Linked DNA regions of Homo sapiens: all the other regions are linked to region 2. The links are contacts of gene promoters, found by promoter capture Hi-C in human tissues and cell types (Jung and others, 2019). All regions are on one chromosome and are shown on one strand. The core of a region is centred on a gene start or on the middle of the fragment in contact, and the rest is flanking DNA. Distances in the headings are between cores, read along the strand shown.

Evidence for each region. Contacts are between HindIII fragments. The study calls those that stand out against the background at their distance.
Region 1: a fragment that was not itself captured here is called in contact with the fragment with the promoter of KCNU1 in region 2 in 1 of the 25 tissues and cell types used here (heart right ventricle).
Region 3: a fragment that was not itself captured here is called in contact with the fragment with the promoter of KCNU1 in region 2 in 1 of the 25 tissues and cell types used here (mesendoderm cells).
Region 4: a fragment that was not itself captured here is called in contact with the fragment with the promoter of KCNU1 in region 2 in 1 of the 25 tissues and cell types used here (mesenchymal stem cells).
Region 5: a fragment that was not itself captured here is called in contact with the fragment with the promoter of KCNU1 in region 2 in 1 of the 25 tissues and cell types used here (dorsolateral prefrontal cortex).

What each region holds. Positions count from the first base shown.
Region 1 is chr8:36,221,170-36,225,302 of GRCh38, reverse strand. The region is part of intron 1 of LOC105379371 (a long non-coding RNA gene); the gene reads right to left. Among named protein-coding and RNA genes, the nearest start is that of KCNU1, 560 kb to the left of the region's middle. The HindIII fragment of the contact is 5,277 bases long and covers 1-4,133 here.
Region 2 is chr8:36,781,406-36,785,830 of GRCh38, reverse strand. KCNU1 (potassium calcium-activated channel subfamily U member 1) reads right to left here and starts at 1,457. Exons shown (of 27, transcript NM_001031836.3): 1 at 1,226-1,457. The coding sequence starts at 1,420. The HindIII fragment of the contact is 3,588 bases long and covers 907-4,425 here.
Region 3 is chr8:36,155,929-36,160,024 of GRCh38, reverse strand. No RefSeq gene overlaps it. Among named protein-coding and RNA genes, the nearest start is that of KCNU1, 630 kb to the left of the region's middle. The HindIII fragment of the contact is 4,753 bases long and covers 1-4,096 here.
Region 4 is chr8:36,130,614-36,134,699 of GRCh38, reverse strand. No RefSeq gene overlaps it. Among named protein-coding and RNA genes, the nearest start is that of KCNU1, 650 kb to the left of the region's middle. The HindIII fragment of the contact is 3,009 bases long and covers 342-3,350 here.
Region 5 is chr8:35,879,661-35,883,778 of GRCh38, reverse strand. No RefSeq gene overlaps it. Among named protein-coding and RNA genes, the nearest start is that of UNC5D, 650 kb to the right of the region's middle. The HindIII fragment of the contact is 5,030 bases long and covers 1-4,067 here.

The DNA of each region.
Region 1 (4,133 bases), core at 260-2,759, 560 kb after region 2:
CTGGTTTGTAGGGTTTCTCTGGAAAGATCCACTGTTAGTCTGATGGGCTTCCTTTTTAGGTGACCTGACCTTTCTCTCTGGCTACCTTTAACATTTTTTCTTTCATTTTGACCTTGGAGAATCTGATGATTATGTGTCTTGGGGTTGATCTTCTTGTAGGGTATCTTAGTGGTGTTCTCTGTATCTCCTGAATGTGAATGTTGGCCTGTCTTCCTAGGTTGGGGAAGTTCTCATGGATAATATCCTGAAGTGTGTTTTCCAGCTTGGTTCCATTCTCCCCGTCACTTTCAGGTATAACAATCAATCACAGGTTTGGTCTTTTCACATAGTCCCATATATCTTGTAGGCTACATTCATTGTTTTGCATTCTTTTTCCTCTAATCTTGTCTGTATGCCTTATTCCAGCAAGGTGGTCTTCAATCTCTGATATCCTTTCTTCTGCTTGATTGATTCAGCTATTGATACTTGGGTGTGTTTCATGAAGTTCTTGTGCTGTGTTTTTCAGCTCCATCAGGTCATTTATATTCCTCTCTAAATGGGTTATTCTAGTTAGCAGTGCCTGTAGCCTTTTATCCAGGTTCTTAGCTTCCTTGTATTGGGTTAGAATATGCTTCTTTAGCTCAGATGAGTTTTTTATTACCCACCTTCTGAAGCCTAATTCTATCAATTCATCAATCTCATCCTCTGTCCAAATTTGTGCCCTTGCTGGAGAGGTGTTGCAATCATTTGGAGAACAAGAGGCATCAGGCTTTGGGAATTTTCAGCGTTTTTGCACTGTTGTTTCCTCATCTTCATGGATTTATCTACCTTTGATCTTTGAGGCTGATGACCTTTGGATGGGGTTTTTGCGGGGGGTCTTTTTTGTTGTTGTTGTTGCTTTCTGTTTGTTAGTTTTTCTTCTAACAGTCAGGGCCCTCTTCTGCAAGTCTGTTGCAGTTTGCTGGAGGTCCACTCTAGACCCTGTTCACCAGGGTATCACCAGTGAAGGCTGCAGAACAGCAAAGATTGCTATGGGTATACTTTTCAAGGTAGTTGAACAAGAACTAAAAATTTATTTTTAATTTCCATTAACAATAAACAACATTCCTAATCCCAACAAGATAACTGGCTGCCCAAAAGTTTCTTCATGTGTATTATCTGATGAGCCAGAATTTAGAACAAATAATCTGGCCATGGCACAGATTAAAATGGTGTTTCTCTGATGGACTTCTGATAGGGAGGTAGGGAGGCCATCATGGAAGCAAAGACCCCTATTTGTTTATCTCTTGTCATTAGTCTAATACATACTTCACAAGTGTGTGTTGACTCACGAGGACTGAATGAAGTAGTGACTGAGTGTGTCTTAATGACATGGCAAATAATTTTTTTTTTTTTTGAGGCAGAGTCTCATTCTGTCACCCAGGTTGGAGTGGAGTGGTGCAATCTCGGCTCACTGCAACCTCCACCTCCTGGGTTCAAGTGATTCTCCTTCCTCAGCCTCCCAAGTAGCTGGGACTACAGGCATGCACCACCACATCCAGCTAATTTTTTTGTATTTTTAGTAGAGACTGGGTTTCTCCGTGTTGGTCAGGCTGGTCTCAAACTCCTGACCTCAAATGACCCTCCCAGCTCAGCCTCCCAAAGTGCTGGGATTACAGGAGTGAGCCACTGTGCCCAGCCAGTTATTTTCTCTATCTTATGTATCTGTGTGATCTAGGTGTTTACATTATGCAATTCCTTAATGTCTATACTTCTGTCAGATTAGCAATTGAAAATTTACTGAGCCAGGCTCGTTCTGTCTGTTGTGAAGTGTGCCAATTACTGAGAAGATGAGTTTTGTACAGAGAAAGGGTTATTTACAAGGCAGCCAAGCAAGGAGATAGGAGAAAAGATCTCAAATCAACCTCCCTGAAGATGGAGTTTTAGGGATATTTATGGGATACAGAAGCAAGGTGGTCCAAGGCATAGTGAAAGGTGTTTGGGGGTAAGGAAAAATGAGTCAATTGGTGATCTGCACAAGCACAGTCAAGTTTCATGGCTCTCCATGGGATGCATGTTCACAAAATGGCATCATTAGCATGATCTAAGGGTGGAGATTTTTGCCCTCTGACATCAAAGGGTCACCCATCAGAGATTAATGCAGGCCAGTCAAAAGGTCTCAGCCAGCTCGAGCTAAACAAAAATGGACTCTAAGTTCCCACAAAACAACTTAAGCAACTGTTACTGTGGTGACCTATACACCAGAGATATTACCTATAAGGAAGCCAGTGCAAGGTTAGTTATATATTGCTTAGCTTCATGACTTTTAGGTCTATGGGTTTTAAAATAAACTAAAAGCAAGTGACTAAAAAACAAGGGAGAAAAGTTAACATTGGCGGGCCCAATCAGGTTAGCCCTCAGTTTTAAAAAGACCTATGATTTTTCATTTTGACCCCTCCTTTTTCAAATCATGAAACTGAGAATGATAGAGGCCAAGTAATGGACTCAAGGTCACTCACGATTAAATAGAAGCAAAGCTGAAATCCATACTCGGGGTAAAGGTGGCTCCCTGCAGATGGGTTTCATTGTGAATGAGATTCTGAGTGCTGATGTCATCTGTGCATGGTCATGGGAAGAAGCTCCGTCATCCTCAGGAATGAGACCAAGCCAGTTACAAAGAACTGATTCCAAGCCTCCAAGTCTGAACTAATGTCCACAGAGCACCTCGTTTCAGCTGTCCATTAAACAGCAATCTACAGGCGAACATTTCCTTTTTTTTACTTTATGAAATTTATATAAATATGATTCAGAGAAAAATCTTTGTTACAAAGCTTTTACTTTAGAATAGAAAGTTCCCTTTAATGTCTTATCTAAATAATATAACTACTTATCTATATATAGCATAGGGGCCAAGGGAAAACTTCCCCTTCACCACTGATGGTTTGCTGAAAAATCAACACACAAAAGGCAGATTAATAGGAGAAATGGCACACAAATTTGTTAGTGTGCATGGGGCAGAGTGATAGTGCCACCACACTATGGGTATAGATGATTATATAACCCATTTCTCAGGGAAAGGGAAATGGAAAATTTGAATGATTTTAGGAGATAGTAAATAATTTTTAGGGAAATTCAACAGGCTTGAAGAACATACAATGACCTGGGGCAAAGCCTGTTGGACTCAAACAGCAGACAATGGCTTGTGACAAAAGTCTGTCCAGGTGTGTTGACAGACCTCAGTCTTTCTTCCTGCAATATTGTCAGAGGCATTTGAACCACAGCAACTCCATCTTGAATATGAGCTGAGTAAAATGAGGCTGAAACCTACTGGGCTGCATTCTCAGACGGTTAATGCATTATAAGTCACAGGGTGAGATAGGAGGTCAGCACAAGATACAGGTCATAAAGACCTTGCTGAAAGAAGCCTGCTAACACCCACCAAAACCAAGATGTCCACAAGAGTGACCTCTGGTCGTCCTCACTGCTATACTCCCACCAGCACCATGATGGTTCACAAGTGAGTGCCATGGCAATGTCAGGAAGTTACCCTATATGGTCTAAAGGGGGAAGGCATGAATAATCCACCCCATGTTTATCATATCATCAACAAATAACCGTAAAAATGGACAACCAGGCCAGGCACGGTGGCTCAGGCTTGTAATCCCAGCACTTTGGGAGGGCCAGATGGGCAGATCCCGAGGTCAGAAGATAGAGACCATCCTGGCTAAGGTGATGAAACCCCATCTCTACTAAAAAAATATTAAAAAATTAGCCTGGCCTGGTGGCAGGTGCCTGTAGTCCCAGCTGCTCGGGAGGCTGAGGCAGGACAATGGCGTGAACCCGGGAGGCAGAGCTTGCAGTGAGCTGAGATAACGCCACTGCACTCCAGCCTGGGTGACAGAGTGAGACTCTGTCTCAAGAAAAAAAAAAAAAAAAAGGACAACTAGGAGCCCTTGGGGCTGCTCTGTCTACGGAATAGCCATTCTTTATTCCTTTACTTTCTTAATAAACTTGCTTTCCCTTTAAGGACTCACCCTGAATTCCTTCTTGCATGAGATCCAAGAACCCTCCCTTGGGGTCTGGATCAGTACCCCCCTTCCTGTAACAGTATGAATTCAGTTAATGAACACACAGGAAAGGGGCCAAAGGTAATTGTTTTCTTCTTTGGCAGGTCT
Region 2 (4,425 bases), core at 208-2,707:
ATTTTTGTAATCACACAAAATGAACATAATGGAGAAGAAGAACATTGCCTGGAGCAGAAGACTAAGAAGATTTAAAAATCCTACAAATTCAGTTGTGCATTAACAACAACAAAACAAGGTAGAAACAAGGAGGCAGATCCATCATAGCTATTTACCCATATGTCAGTATCCCAGAATTCTTTCTCCAATTATTGTGCCACAGCTTAAAATCCATAATGTAGAAATAATCAATAGAATAAACTTGTTTAGGAACAAAATCTATAAGCTTCAGTATTGGATAATTTTCAAATATGGAAAACAAAATTCCATATTACCAATAACTTTAAAAACTTATCAATTTATGAATTATATTTTATGTAGGTTTTAGCACTAAAAGAAATGTTTTAAGCAAATTTTCAATATTATGATGCACAGGTGAAATGTGTTGTGTTATGGAAATTGCTATAATCTATCAGAGAAAGAAAGTTTGGGAAGCAAAATTGGAAACAAACTACACAGGGTATAGTAAAACTCTTCACCTTTGACCTCTGGTAATAGAACATCCATTACACAGCATTTGAGAGCTTTATTTCAAGCTCTTAAGCAATGCCTTATCTGTATAATACATCATTTATTCTCATCATCATCATTTGCCAGCTGTTATTCAACAACATCAACTCCTGCTAAGCTTGTTTGGGTATAAGAAATGTCCTTGCATCTATGCCTGGATGGCACAGGCATGTATGCATGGGCTTCTCTGTGTATGTGCAACTCAATGTGTTGTCTTCATATGGTATACAAAAGGCAATGTACACGTCAGTACATATGCATTATGCATGAACAATTTATGAAAGCAAGGTTGATGTTGATGTCTTGTTCCCTTTCACCTCCTTTCTATGACCTAGCACAATTGTCTTGTTAAAATTCGAGATAGAGGCATGGACATAATGTTTATGAACTTTTTTTCAGAACAGTGACCTCTGTTTCCAGAGCTAACATTAATCATTATCCATACAAGACATTGCTTTTTCCAGTGATGGGAGAGAGAAGAGGCTTGGCCCTGTCTCTTCAGGCCTCAGAATGTGGCCTGAGGTCTGGCTTACCACCCTTTCTGAGGCACCAGGCTATAGAAGCTGACTCTGTTAGCTTGAAAAACTGAATGAAGCTTAGATCTTTTACTAAACACAAAACTACCCCAAACTCATCTCTGACTTCACACAGAGGGATCCCTAACAAGGAAACTGACCAAGATAATTCCTGTTCCCTTGATGATTTGCCATTTTTTAACAGATCTCCAGATCAGCCTGAAGATCAACAGGATGATGAGTCCACTGAAGAAGGTCACAAAGGAAGAGAGAATGAATGCTGCTTGGATCTCAGTTGTGCAGGACATTTTTGGCAAGTCTTCCCAAGTTTCATTTCGTAGCTTAGTCTGAAACATGTTCGAGACATCAGTAGACGGAATTGCCAGGTCATTTGATGACGCCGTGGTCGCCTGGTAACAATTCCAGGAATCAGAGTTCACTGTACCACAGTGTTCCAACATTAGGCGTGATAACCAGTGAGAAGTTCCAGGAACAAGGGTCTGCCAATCCCCCGGTGCCAGCTCATGGGTTGTGAATGAATACACAACTGGAGATGGCTGGGGCCTACAATATGAATAGTCAAAAAAATCATAATTCTAGATCGGATTGTTACGACTTTCTCTATGCCTTGAAGAAATCCCATTATCTGTAGCAATGATCAGCTGGTTATCAGTTCAGTTAATGCAGTCAAATAATTTCAAATCAACTCTTTCGGAGTGAAACAACAGCCAACTATGTGTGTGAATGAGTTGGTTCTCTATCTGGGAGGATGCCACGTGCTTAGTAGGCTTGGAAGGACAGAAGAGAGAAGTACTTTAAAGTTTTTGTTTATCCTTTATACAAAGGAGCAGATATGCAGAATGAATAAGTCTAGAAGATCTAGTGTGCAGAACAAAGAACATAATTAATAAAATTATTTGTATTCAGGATTTTTGCTAAAAGAGTAGATTTTAAGGGCTCTTGTTACACGCACACAAAAGATGATTAACTCTGTGAGATGATAGATATATGAATTTGCTTGACTGTAGTCACTGCTTCACTATGCATAAGTTTATCAAAAGAGCATTTTGCGTTTGTACTTGTATGCGGAAGCTAAAACAGTGGATCTCATAAAGATAGAGAGTAGATTCATGGTTACGAGATGCCGGGAAGGGTGGCTGAGGAAAGAAGTTGGATAAAGAGAAGTTGATTAATGGGTACAAATATTTGGTTTGATAGAAGAAATAACATCTAATGTTCTATAGATCAGTGAAGTGACTATAGCTTATGATAATCTATTGTACATTTAAAAATAGCTAGAAGAGAAAAATTTGAATGTTTCTAGCACAAAGAAAATACAAATATGTAAGTTGATTGATATCCCAAGTACACAAATTATGTGAATGTATTAAATTATCACGTGACTTGAAAATATGTGTATCTGCTGTGCATCAATCCAAAGAATATCACGTTGTACTCCTTAATTACACACAATGAAAATCAAGATTATCTTGAAACAGAAAAAAAAAGGTTTTGTTTATTCTTTACATAAGAAAGGCATAGTATAGAGTGCAGGTATTGAAGAAGACAATTTAACTAGTGTGGTCATTGGTTGATTGTTATTTCAGCCCATAAATCCATTCCACTTATCTCTTCTTTATGGAACTCTCCCCTTTCTTGCTTTTATTACTGCCCTGGCAGCAAACCTTTTGGCCCAGCAGAGGTAAAGTTCAGAATGAGAGAAATTTCTTTGATTTTCCCTGATGTTTTCAAAGGTGTAAGAAATGTCATGCCTTTCAGTGTGCACAAGTGGCAGGCAAAATGTCAGAGCCCAGTGGAGGGCCTAGTTCACCCCAGTTATTACCAAGATAACCTGACACCAGGTGAAGAGGCCCAAGAGGAATCATCACGCTGTCCTTGGGAGCCCGCCATGACTCCACACTGTTTGGCAGGCTGTTTCAGAAGATAACTGTAGCATTTCCTAGGACTGCTGCCACAGTTACATTTCCTGCTTTTAAGCTTACCTATCATTTCTACAAAATCCTGTCATTGAGCTAGCTAATAACAAAGGGCGATGTTTAAAAGAACACTGGTCTAGGAGTTAGGAGCCCTGCGTTCCAGCCCAGTCCTTCTATTAAGTTACTGTGTGATTTCTAACAAGTCATTTTAATGTTCGTAGTCTTTTGATTTTATGTGGAAGATAATACCTACTTGATAGAATTATTGTGGGGATTCAAGAAGGTAGTGTGAACATATTTTGAAAAGCATAAAACTCAATATAAGATGCCATTAGCCATTTCAGTTCCTTTTTTGAATGGCATTAATTATAAAGACAGGAGGAGGAAGAAGTAAAGGAAAGGAGGGAGAGAAAGAAGGAAGGAGGGAGGCAGGGAGGGAGGTAGGGAGGGAGGTAGGGAGGGAGGAAGGAAGGAAGGAAGGAATGAACGGAGGGAGGGAGGGAGGAAGGAATGAGGGAAGGGAGGGAGGAAGGAAGGAAGGGAAGGAGGGAGGGAGAAATCACTTGTTTATCTCTTTCACATATGTGTGTGTGCGCACGCACACACACACACACGCGCGCACACACACACACACACACACTTACAGCTATGTGGACAAGATCAGACTTTCCAAGCCAAAATTCATCCACATCCTTTACTTAGTATTCTCCCTTTTATCTATCATTATCACTTTAATTTTCTTATTTTCTTCCCTTTTACTATTTACTGTTTGTTAGGATGGAGAAAAGAAACAGAGACAAGGGGAGGTCGCTCAACAGCAACACAGGTTTATTGGACAAAGACTTGCAGAAGGGGAACACCAGACAGCGCTGGAGCCCAAGCCCCGCTTACAGACTGGAGCAGTTGTAGGTCCCGACAGGAGAGGTGGGGCAGTATGGGTCGCTGCAGGGCAGGATGTGATAAAGGAAGAATTTCCTGCAGTCAGACGGTTAGGCCTGGGACCTGCCAGGATGTTTCTCATGGCCCGAGCCCCTCCAGGGGAATTTTCCACCCTAACCAGGGTGTGCAAAATGGCAGGGGTTTACAGGATGGCGCTGCTTGGGCTAACACTATTTTCAAAGTATTTCGATTCTGCTGTATTATGATGCATCCTGGGCACCTCTTCCCTTTTTGCAGATATTGCTTTATGAACACAAAAAGGATTCCATTCAATTCGAACAGGCAGGTAGTTTGTCCCTCTAATATGCTGTTATCACGATAATAATATTACTGTCTGCAAATGAGTAGAAAAATGTGCAGGTGGTTTCAAAATCAGTCTCTTCAAACCCATCTTGAACCTACAGTGACGAACAGTCCCTGTTCAGAACTGTCCCAGGTTCAAAACTGAAAGTCCAGTGACTGGAGAAACCGCCTAGTCCTGGCAA
Region 3 (4,096 bases), core at 1,002-3,501, 630 kb after region 2:
ACCATGTTGGCCAGGCTGGTCTCGAACTCGTGACCTCAAGTCATCTGCCTGCCTCGGCCTCTCAAAGTGCTGGGATTACAGCCATGAGCCACCATGCCCAGCCAGAAATCTCAAACTTGCTATGCTATACATCTAAAATGCATTTTCTCATTTCACTCTCCATGTCTATTATATCTGCTTTTTCCATAGTCTCTCCCTAAATCATACTAAATGGCAGTAGCATTAACCTGGTAACTCAGACCCCACATTGATAAATCACCTGTGATACCTCCTTTTCCTTCACTCCTACATATACCCCATCAGCAAGTCCTATTGGTGCCACCTTCACAATGCAGTATATCCTTAATCTGATTGCTTCACCCTGCCTACACCACTACTACTCTGGTTATGACTGGTATTATGTATCTCCTAGACTGCTCTCCCTTCTTTCACTTTTGTCCCCCTAAAACCAATTCCCTTATGCTTAGCAGCTGAAGTAATGTTGCTCCAGCTCAAACTTGAGTGATATTCAGAACAAAGTTTGACCGCGATCCGTACTGTGATCGTAGGACTCTACATGATCCAGCCCTTCCCAGCTATAAGAATGAGAATATCTTATCCCCTAACTCTTTATCCTCTCCTCTCACTTTGTTCTAGCAACAGTGGGGTTATTTTCCTATTCATTAGCTATACCAAACTTATTCTTGCTTTTGATAATTTGTACTTGTTCCTTCCTCTGCCTGAAACACTTCTCTTCGAAGGACCTGCATGGTGAATTCCTGCAGTCCAGTCATATGTCTGTTCAAACATCACTAGCTCTGAGAGGCTTTCTCTAATTGTGCTACTCAAAAGAGCTCCTCTCTCTCTATTGTCACTTTCTATTTTCATATTCTGCTTTATTATACCTTAAAACACGTAAACTACATTGAATTGTGTATCTATTTGTTTACATATTTATGATCTGTCTTCCTAATTAAAAATATAAGTCCCATGAGGTAGGCTCTTTGCCTAGATTTTTCATCCCTATATACCCAGTACTTAAAACAATGTCTGGTCCATAGTACACACTCAGTAAGTATTTTACAAATGAAATTTTGAAGAAACTATTGCATCAGGTCAATATATTTAATTAAAATCTGACCCTGTTTTGCAAATTAGCTTTTTCATTTTTATACATGACCTTTTCTTAATTCCATTTTATGAGATAAAAAAGGAAAACGGGAATGTCAATAAAACAAAAGAAATTCTAAGACAAGCTTAGATTTAAATATTAAAAGCATCAATCATAATCATGTCCTGTGTTTCAACAGCACTTAGTGATTTTCTTGGTACTATCTTATATTCTGTCCTATTTAATCCATATAACAATCTTCTATTAGTATCTCCATTTTGCATATGAGAAAATGAAAACGAAATGAATCTGAGGGACTTTAACAAGTTCTTGCTGCTAAGAAGTGTCAGAGACAAGATTAGAAGATGCTTCTGTCAGACTCTTCATCAAGGATTTGCTCACACTCTCAAAGCTAATCTAAAAACTTTCTACTCTGTGCCGGGTCCAATATGAAAATCTGAAAATCGAACAAATTTGAAATTGACATTCCATGGCTCACATTATGAAAATGACAGTTTTCCTTAAGAGTCAAACTCTAATTTGAAAAACATTTTTTTCTGATTCTGGAACTCTGAGAATGAACAAGAAGGGGAACTTGGCTCTGCAAATTCACACTTTTGGAGCAGGGGCTATAACACGGGTGTCAGGCAGAGAAGACTTACTGGCAGGGAACGTACTCAGGCCCTATCTGGTAAAAAGACGTCCAGGTGGGTCAAGAATCAAATGAATTAATACAGAAGAGCAGCTGTAAATGTGCAGGTATAGGCTGAATTCAGGCTGGATATCTTAGCTTGGGGTTGTGTTTTATTTTGTTTTTATTTGTCTTATATTAGTGTGGTGGGGGTTTTTCTTTTTTAATTTGGGTTTAAATATTTCATATTCTGAGTATCTAACATAAAAGTCTGAGTTTCTCTGTTTTATTTTCTTTTCTTTTTCTTTTTTTTAAATAGAAGACAGCTGATTTACCATGCAAAATCATGGCAAACCATGAAACGATGTAGCTGCTGCCTCTTCAAGTGGGGTGGCTACTTTCTGTTTGCCACACTTCCCATTCTTACTCATAACTGCCACCTTTCTGCTTTGCTCATTTACATGGTTTACTTGATGCCTGTAGATATTTGAGTTTGTGATGTTAAATTTAGAGATTCCTAGCTATATGAAGCAGGAGGCACCAGAGCATCATCAATGAGATTGATTTATCAATGGTATAAATGAGTTGCAAGAACATGTAACTCCAAACTGAATATTTTTGTTTGGCAGCAATAAAAAAACCTCCTTGAAAAGTGTCTTCTTAATCCATGTGTTGCAGCTAGATAGAATAGATGGGTAGCCAAAACAGCAGCTTTCTAGTAGGGCTGATTCCCAGGTAATCTGCTGCTTTAACATATGAGCTGGGGATATTTATTATGACCTGATTTCCTCTCAATGTCTTCCTCTACAGCATCCTGTAAAGTCTTGGATGAAGATCTTCACAGGTATAGTATAACCCCCTATTTGTGAAGGGTGGAACGTACTACCTAAAATATAGACCAAGTATTTCTGTTGGTATTGTGTAGAAGAGAGCGAAAAGACAATGGAAAATAAGAGAGAGAACGAGAGACCATGGGCACTTTAAGTAAGGACAATACTGGAGACAGTGAGCTTGTGACAGTCCCTGTGTTACTTAGGACAATGCCACGGTATTGGGCATTGTAAAAGGAGAAGAATGGCACTTGCAGTAGGAGGCGATGTCTACTCCCCTTCTCACGAAGAAAAATACGGGAAGAATCTTCTCACTCCTCCTTCCCCAGAGAGGCAGAGTCACTTACATTACTCCCATATTTAGAAGATGTAGAATATTCTCAACACAGCCTCACATTGTCACAGTGCATCCAGTATGTTTGTTCTCATCCTATGACCTCTGGATGGTGATGGCATCTTCAGTGTGTCACCTCATGAGTGGCACATGCAGAGTAAGTTTCATTTAGAGAGAATGTGGTAAACATCACTTCGATTGACCTCTTTGGCCATTTCTGGGTGTCAGACTCTTGATTCAATAGGTAGAGAGCACCACCAAGCAAGGATTTTTCTAGAATTTGAAACTGTGAAGACAATAAATTGACTTATTGCAAATAACCAGACCTGTATTTTGAAATGAGGTCTCTTATAAATTGATTTCTAAATATATAATTACTTACAAAGAGTAGTTATGGTCTTTGCATCATATTCTATTTCCTCTTCACTGAAACTCTGGTTATAATGGTATAGGGTGGCCACAGGAGCAGTGTGGGTCTAGAGTGGCCCTTCTTCTGTGTGAGGCACATTGCTCTTCTTTGACAAAATCTGGTCTTCTCAGAAGTGTTTGCTTTTTATTTCAGAAACTTAATTAGTAATCACACAAAGTTATTCATATTTTCTAGTTACTCCTAGGCATGGCTTTCAGCCTCCAGGAGAACTTACTACAGCTCAGGTGAGAGATAGTGCTCTACCTGTAGGATCAGAATTCTTATTTCTGGCCTTTATGTTCTTTATATTACCTTTACTTTCTTTTATGTACTGTGATGATGTCGGGAAGTGGTTTTAAACTTTCTTTCAGAGATCTATATCTGTATACCTACTGGCAATGGGAACTGAAAATTGATCTTCTCTCCGATTTACAGTCCATAAAATTTCCTGTATTCCATCACAAAGATAGTGACTCGGAACATTACTTTTTAATCACTTCAGGCCTACTTCAGTGGTTTCCAAATGCCTTTGTGTAAATGGACTGCATCAGAATTGCCTGGGAAGTGTATTAAAATTACAGATCCCCAGGTTCCAACCCAATCATTCAGAAGAAACTCCAGAATTGACTCCCTTTAATCTGTATTTTAAACAAGAACAAAGGCAATGCTTATTCCAGCCCCCAGTTTGGAAATTTATAAAAACACTATGACTAACATGCACCTACAGCCAGCAGTCACTAATTTCTGAATCAATCAATCAATGAATGGGTAACATTCATAAACATGAAAAAGACAAAAAGGG
Region 4 (4,086 bases), core at 597-3,096, 650 kb after region 2:
ATCCAAATACTACAAATAGCAATGAGTATGATTGTAAGTCATAAATGAAAGAAACTTGATAGAGATTTATAAAAATTTGTCTATACTACTAAAAAAATTATACGATATTACCGGTAATGAATTGTGAAGCAAAAAAATAAAAAGAGGAATGCTTCTAAACCCTTATTCATAAAGAAACAGATATTTATCAACCATGATAGATTTAAAAAATAATTTTTCAGTGGCTCATGCCTGTAATCCCAGCCCTTTGGGAGACCAAGGCGGGCAGATCACCTGAGGTTGGGAGTTTGAGACCAGCCTGACCAACATGGTGAAACCTGGTCTCTACTAAAACACAAAAAAATTAGCCGGGCATGGTGGTGTGTGCCTGTAGTCCCAGCTACTTGAGAGGCTGAGGCAGGAGAATCACTTGAAACCAGGAGGCGGAGGTTAGAGTGAGCCGACATTGCACCACTGCACTCCAGCCTGGCAACAGAGCAAGACTCCATTTCAAAAATATATGTATTTTAAAATGAAATCATTTAGCAATTTTTTGCTTAAATATAAAAATACTTTACTTAAAAAATTTACTTAAATTTCTATATTTTATAATTTTATATTTACTTAAAAATTAAAAAAATATATTTTTCTACCTCTCAGAGACACTGAAGATAGCATCAGGAATTTGCTTACAATCTCATCTTCACCAAATATTTGAAACTCTATTTAGACAAAGGTGCAGAAACACATGTGGTGAAGACATGATATTTCTACTCAGAAATAGAAGTTCTGATCTTGGCTTAAAAGTCTATGAGGTGAGGACCTCTGCATTGCAGACTCCAGGGACACAGGCTCTCTGGTCTATTGACTTGGAAAGCAGAGAGAAAGAGAAGAAATGAGAGACTCAGGCATCCTCTGTAATTATTTCTCTGTCAGAATTATAGTATCTCAGAAAGCAATCTGTCATTTGTAGGAAACTCTGTGAATCAGCCAACATTTTCTACATTATCAAAGAAATGTGATGTGGTTTGGAGGAGAGGTGGAGACAGTGAAAATGAAGATGCTATTATACTATGGCTTTCAATTCCAAGATAAACTTTCAGAGAAATTTGTCAAAATTAGCTACGATGTTCCTTCTAAGTAGTGCTCAGCTGTCACCTACTCTAGGAAAAGAAGAAGCATGAAGGATGACTTTGTATTCTTCACCATGTCTCCTTGTGTCTGTCAATAAGGAGATGACTATGAATATGGAGGATAGTCCCTATTGACATATTTCAATCATGTCAAAAGAACCAGAGAACATTAATACTAAGTATACCAGAAATTATAACAACTTTTTCTATTTAATTTTGCTATTGTGGCTTCCATCTTCATATTTCAAAGCTTATTATAATACATGACTCTTGCATTTATCCCCCACCCCAACCCCAATCAGTCAAGAGAGTTTTATGGATTTTCCTGAGTTTGATAGTGAAATGCCAAGAACCATGGAATACAGCCATAAAGAGTGTTAGTTATGGCTGGGCGCGGTGGCTCACGCCTGTAATCCCAGCACTTTGGGAGGCCGAGGCAGATGGATCACGAGGTCAGGGGATCAAGACCATCCTGGCTAACACAGTGAAACCCCTTCCCTACTAAAAATACAAAAAAATTAGCCGGGCATGGTGGCATGCACCTGTAATCCCAGCTACTCAAGAGGCTGAGGCAGGAGAATGGCGTGAACCCAGGAGGCTTGCAATGCCTCAATGCAAGCTCAGCTTGCAATGAGCTGAGATCACACCACTGCACTCCAGCCTGGGCAACAGAACGAGACTGCATATCAAAAAAAAAAAAAAAAAAAAAAGAGTGTTAGTTATTAGATGAATGTACTCCTCACTAAACACAGTTGTCTTAGGTAGGAAAGTTGTTTATGCCTACGGGAAATAGAGTATGTTAAATAATTAATCGAATTGAATCAAAAGATGGTAATTTGATCAGCAAACGTTTTTTATTAACAAAGTTGGGAGAAGAGATGAGAAGGAGAAAGAGATCATAACCATACTGGTGGGAAGATTTAGAGATATGTAAGATTATCATCACTTCCACTTCTCATAAGATAGAGTAGATATAATTTCCCTATTCTTCCCACTAAGCACAATTTAAAAACTCTAGACATTATATATAAAACAAACATAAGAAGACTCTAAAAGATGGAGAGAAGAAGGCAGACTGGATAGGGATGTCAGCAAGGAACAACATGGTGGTGAGTTTTGTAGGTTTTCTGTTTCCATCATATATCCCAAACTGGTAGCTGAAAAGCCAGTGTCCCAGAAACAGTGTATGAGGAATGGAAAACCTCAACGAAAGCTTGTTCTCTCTAGCCAAAGGATCAGGAAGGGGTAACATAAAAATACAAAAAAAAAAAAAACTTTTAAACTGTAAATTCTCTATTTCAACCAAACATCATAAAAATAAATACAGACAACTCCCCACCCACATCATCAAAAACCAAGGGCAAACACAGAATCCCATGCTAATGACACTGTTGCAAGGTGCCCCAGCAACTCTCCTAGCACGAGGCCCAAGAAAGCCAAGTAGGGAGTTAGGACTTCCAGCACTGTTGGGCCATAACAAGATGTTCCCTGTGGTGTCATTAGAGACTACATAGGTTGCCTGGACTTCCAGCCAACTGAAAATCAAAACAGGAGAGGGCCCTTCTCCTCCCCACTGAAGTGGTATCAGAGGATATCTAGCAGAGAGTCAAGTTTTTCATGACTAGCCATTAGTATTAAGGTCATCCCTCTGTGATTTCAGTGGAGACTACATGAGGAACAGTAACAAGTACTTGCCTCAGCCTGGGTGTTATCAGTAGAGGCCCAGAGGAAAGCCAGAACTCCTCCTCCACCCAACAGTAATGAGAAGCTCTCCCCCTCACTGGATTCAGTGGAGGCCAATGTGAAACTGGGCTTCTACTCCCACCTGACAGTAACAATTCAGCACTCCCAGGCTCTCACTGTTGAAGCAGTGTCAAAGGGAACCAGTTAAAATAGAGGGTTTAAATAAGATTCAGAATTTCATAATATACTACCTCAAATTTCCAGTTCTCAATTTTAAAAATCACTTGTACCAAGAACCAGGAAAATATCAACTTACAAAAAAGGGAAAATCAATAGATGCCATCACCTAGATGACAGAGATGTTAGAATTATCTGACAGAGATTTTAAAGTAGTCATCATAAAAATGCTTCAACAAGCAACTACAAACATACTTGAAACAAAATAGTAGAAAGTCTTGGCAAGGAAATAGAAGGTTACAGCAAAGAAATATATATATATTATATATAAATTATATTACATATATATACATTATATTTATGTATATATACACATTATGTATATGAAAATTTTAGAACTGAAAAATACAATAAACAAAATTTTAAAAGCTCAATGGAAAGTGCCTTGTTTAGCTCAATCTGCCAAAATAAATTACCACATATTGAGTGGCTTAAACAACAAAAATGTGTATTCTCATAATTCTGCAATCTGGAAGTTCAAGGTTGGTGCCAGCATGGTTAGGTTTTGGTGAGTGCTGTCTTTCTGACTTGCAGATGGCCACCTCTCCCTGTGTGCTCACCTGGCCTGTTCTCATTTGCATAACAGGGAGTGGGAAATCAATCTCACTTACTTTTCCTTTTCTTCTAAGGGTGCTAATCTCATCATAAAGGTCCTACCTGATGAAGTCATCCAAATTTAATTAACTCCTAAAGGCTTCAGCTGCAAATACTACAGCATTGGGGGTTAAAGTTGCAACATACAAATTTGGGGTTGGAGGACACAATTCAGTCCATAGCAGAAGGACTCAATAGCAGGATGGAGAGGCCAGAAGAAAGAATTAGTAAACTTCATTATAGAACAATAGAAATTACCCAATCCAAACACCATAGAAAAATTACTCTGAAAGGAATAAATGAATGGAACATCAGGAACATGTTCATCTATAACAAATATTTAACACTCATGTCATCAGAGTCTCAGAAGGAGAGGAAAATGAGGGCAAGGATGAAAAATTATGCAAATAAATACTAACTGAAAATTACCAAATTTGACAAAAGACATTGACCTAAGAGG
Region 5 (4,118 bases), core at 303-2,802, 900 kb after region 2:
AGAGCAAGAGAGATTCCAGGCTCTTTTCAACAAACAGGTCTTGCAGTAACTAATAAAGTGAGAATGAGAATTCACTCATTACAGTGGGTAGGACACCAACCCATTCGTGAGGGATCCACACTCATGACCCAAACACCTTCTACTAGGCAACACTTCCAACTCTGGGGATCACATTTCAATATGAAATTTGGAGGGGACAAACATCCAAACTATATCAGTGTTGTTTATTCTATGGCTTTCAGTTTTAATAAACATGGTCAAGACATTCCTGTTAAAAAAATACTGTCCACTTATTTACTGAGGGGAATGTTCTATGCCCCCCTTACAAGAACACCATCCTTGTACCATAATTAATGTTTACCCCTGGGCTCAAAATGCCCATTCAAACTGCCAAGGCTTATAGGCACAAATCAAGAAAATATAGCTACAAATCATTCTCCCCAAATAAAAGGGTCAACTGGTATTAAATTAGTTCATTTACAGAACTCATTGAAATTAGCAGCATGTTCTTAAATTGCTTCTTGATTGAGGACATTTGCCTCATTAATTTTAAACAACCTGAGAAGACTATTAAAGTCTTACAGAAAAAAAATGACCAAAGGACATAATACACAATACACATTACTATCAGGGTGAATGTAAAATCCTAGAAAATATATACCTAGAGTGAGAAATCCAAGATGAGAGGGTTTAACTGTCATATTCTCCCATGGAAGTTCCTGTCTTTTTTTTTGGTTTTGACCATTTTTTGTGTTGTCATTTTTCCAGTGAAGAACTTTCTATGCCACCAACCCACTGTCATATAATTCTCTGCTTTAGTGATTCCTCTTTCCTTTTCAATAAAGCTAGAATGCTTTTGAGGATTTAGCTCTGGCTCCTCCTCCACGTGTCCATTTAGTCCCCACCATACTTGACCCTTTCTGTTCCCTGAGTTTGCCATGTTCTTTTAACCATAATAGGTTTGTTCCTGATGCATGTGGCAAGTCAACATGCTAAGACACCAGGTTGCATCAGAGAAAGAGATTTAATTGGAGGTCTGCCAAATGAGGACATGAGAGGAAATATCAAATCCGTGTCCCCAAGGCATTTGGGCCTAGGGTTTTTAAGGATTTTGGAGTGGGCTGAAGTGTGGAGATGTTGATTGGTCAAAGAGTTCAGGGCAAAGTCATGGGACAGGGAGATGAAGAACCTGCATTCTCAGGCTGATTTGGTTCCTTTGGGGGTGGGGAGGGTCAAACTGGTTGGTGTCACCTACTTCACTGGAATTCAGGATCCAGGATCTGCTTAAGCATTTATTAAACAAAAACCTTATGATTCTAATGTCAGAGATCCTATCTATAGAAACCATAAAGATGCATGTGCTCTGTAACTAGTGTTATATGACTTCCAGTTACAAGGAAGTGGGTCAAAGTGCAGCCTAATTCGTGCTTAGTTATAATGATTTCTGGCTAGAATTGTTGTTAACTTTCTGGAATGGCTTCACTCTGACACACCTTTGGAGCTTTTTATATGCTTTATTTCTTCTTCTTTAGCCTAGGCTGATTTCTACCCACCTTTTAGAACTCAACTCAAGTATCCCTTCTTCTGAGAAGCCTCCTATAGACACAAGACTATCTTAGGTGCTCCTTGTTCTGCAGTTATATTTACCATAATATTTACCACACTAACATAATTGCCTGTTACTTTTTCTGTATCACCTATGAAAAGCCCTGTGAAGACAGAGACTATGCCTTATATACCGTTTTATTTCTAGCCCTGGCCTTGGTAGGTACTTGGTGGGTATTCTTGAGTGAATGAACAAATGAATGAATCAATTAGCTCAAAACTTATTAAGCATTTTTTTCTGTGCAATGCCATGTTCTTGTGGAGGACACAATGACGTCCCTATACTGGAGTGAGCACTCAGTATTTCACTGCAGAAAAGTCATGCACACAAATTACTAGAGTGTAAGTTACCAAAAGATTCTAATAACAAGGGTTCTGAGGAAGGAGTAACTATTTTTCCTTGAAGACATCAGGGAATTCTTCTGGTGTGGGAGAAGGTGGACAACATAGTACATTTTATTTTAATATCAACAGTTAATATGTAAGATTTGTATTAAAAAAAGATAAGGCAGGAAAGAGGATTCTGATTACAGGGAAGGAACAATATGAGCAAAGATCCAAAGAAAGAACGTTATTCATATATTTATTTATGCATTCATTCATTTACATATTAATCAGTGATCAAAAATTTATTGACCACCTCCTACTATGTGTCAGAAACTGTGGTAGGCACTAGATATTCAGTAGCGAGTTAAACAACCTCAGTACCTACTCCATAACACTTTTATTAAGAGGAAAGAAAAACATTAAATAACTAGTTCATAATTATCTACTTATTGTAAAAGTACTATATTAACTATATTTAAGAAGAAGGTCATACTTATCAGGAGAATGAGATTGAGGAAGTGTATTTTTATCATAACTTTTATTCTAGGTTCCGGGGTAGATGGGAAGGTTTGTTTTACAGGTAAACTGTGTGTCATGGGGGTTTGGTGTACAAATTATTTTGTCACTCAGGTACTAAGCCTAGTATTCATTAGTATTTGGTTTTCTATTCCTGAGTTAGTATGCTAAGGAAATTGGCCTCCAGCTCTATCCATGTTGCTGCAAAGGAATAATCTCATTCTTTTTTATGGCTGTTTAGTGTTCCATGGTGTATATGTACCACATTTTCTTTATCCAGTCTACTACTAATGGGCTTTTATAATGAGTGAAATTTGAACATGTTATAATCCTGATAGCAGTAATATGGAAGATAAGGTTAAGATACAATTGAAAGAGCAAATAACCAAGGAATGATATTTCATGAAATGCAAAAAGGATAGTCTCCGGACAACATGACCTTAGATTTTAAAAATCAGAAGCAAGAGAAAATGGGTCTATGTATAGGGTTTGGTGATTTAGAAGTGGTAAGTTGAGGTTGCACCTGTGGTTCTCTTTCTCTGAGAAACTGGAGGCCAGATAATTTCCTTATGGTTTAAAAAATGTAGAGAAAGGAAATGCTGTTAGAGGTTGAAGCAAATGAAAATGGGCATTTGTAAAAGAAAAATCCAGTTCAGTTTGACTTAGGGTTTGAGTGGTGGAAATTTTCAGAAATGAGGTTGGGAGTGAAAACTGGGGGCAAATTGTAGACAGTTTTGGCTAATAAAGCTCAGCATGCCTGCCCTTACACTTCTGGCTGACTTACTGGAGAAGTGGGAAAAAAGGAACCTGTAACTAAAAGCTACTTTATTTTTCAACTTAAACAGAAGAGACTCTTTTTTTATAAAACATCTTTATTCTTCCTGGTTGTGCTAGGGGAGAGGAAGAGGTCTTCCACTTTTTGTGGCTGCTTCTGGACTGATGTGAATAAATTCTTGGAAGAAAGGAAGTCATGGAACAACTGTTGCTTAAAAGGAACATAGACCACCTGACAACCTCTGCATTATCGGTAGACAAAGTTGGCTCTTATTAATGTCCTCTCACAGATAATGAGATGGCACAGTCGACAACAGATAGCTGGACCAGAGCTTCGAGATCATTTCTTTCATCTGTCTCATCTCACAGTTCATGAGAGCATGCTGGGTAGTGAAAAACCCCTGCAGTGTGCATCACAAGACCAGAGCTCTAGTTCAGCTTCTGTCTGACATTCAAAAGATCACTTAAATCCTGTCTTCTTCCATTTGTACAAAGAAATCCTTCGATTTGTCCAACGTTTGAGTATTTTAAATTGCAAATATTTCTAGATCATTACTTCTATCCCCAGTGTAGCCTCTGATCAATTGTGTTTTAACCATGGCTTTCCATACTATATAGGTCAAAGAATTTTAGCTGGCCATCTTATGCCAACCTTATAATCCTTCTAATCAATTTTGTGTCCTTCTGTTGATCTTATCAAGAGGTTATAACTAATTTGAAACATAATCAAATACAGCATACTGGAAGGGCAAACATGGTTTAGGAGAAAGAGAGGATTGTATTTTCTATTTTCATTCTCATCTATCTCTAATGCCAAGGATTGTGATAACCTTTCAGTCTACAGAATAGCTGTAGGCTAGTGTCTTCAGAGACCAATCTATACTCTCTCCCAGGTA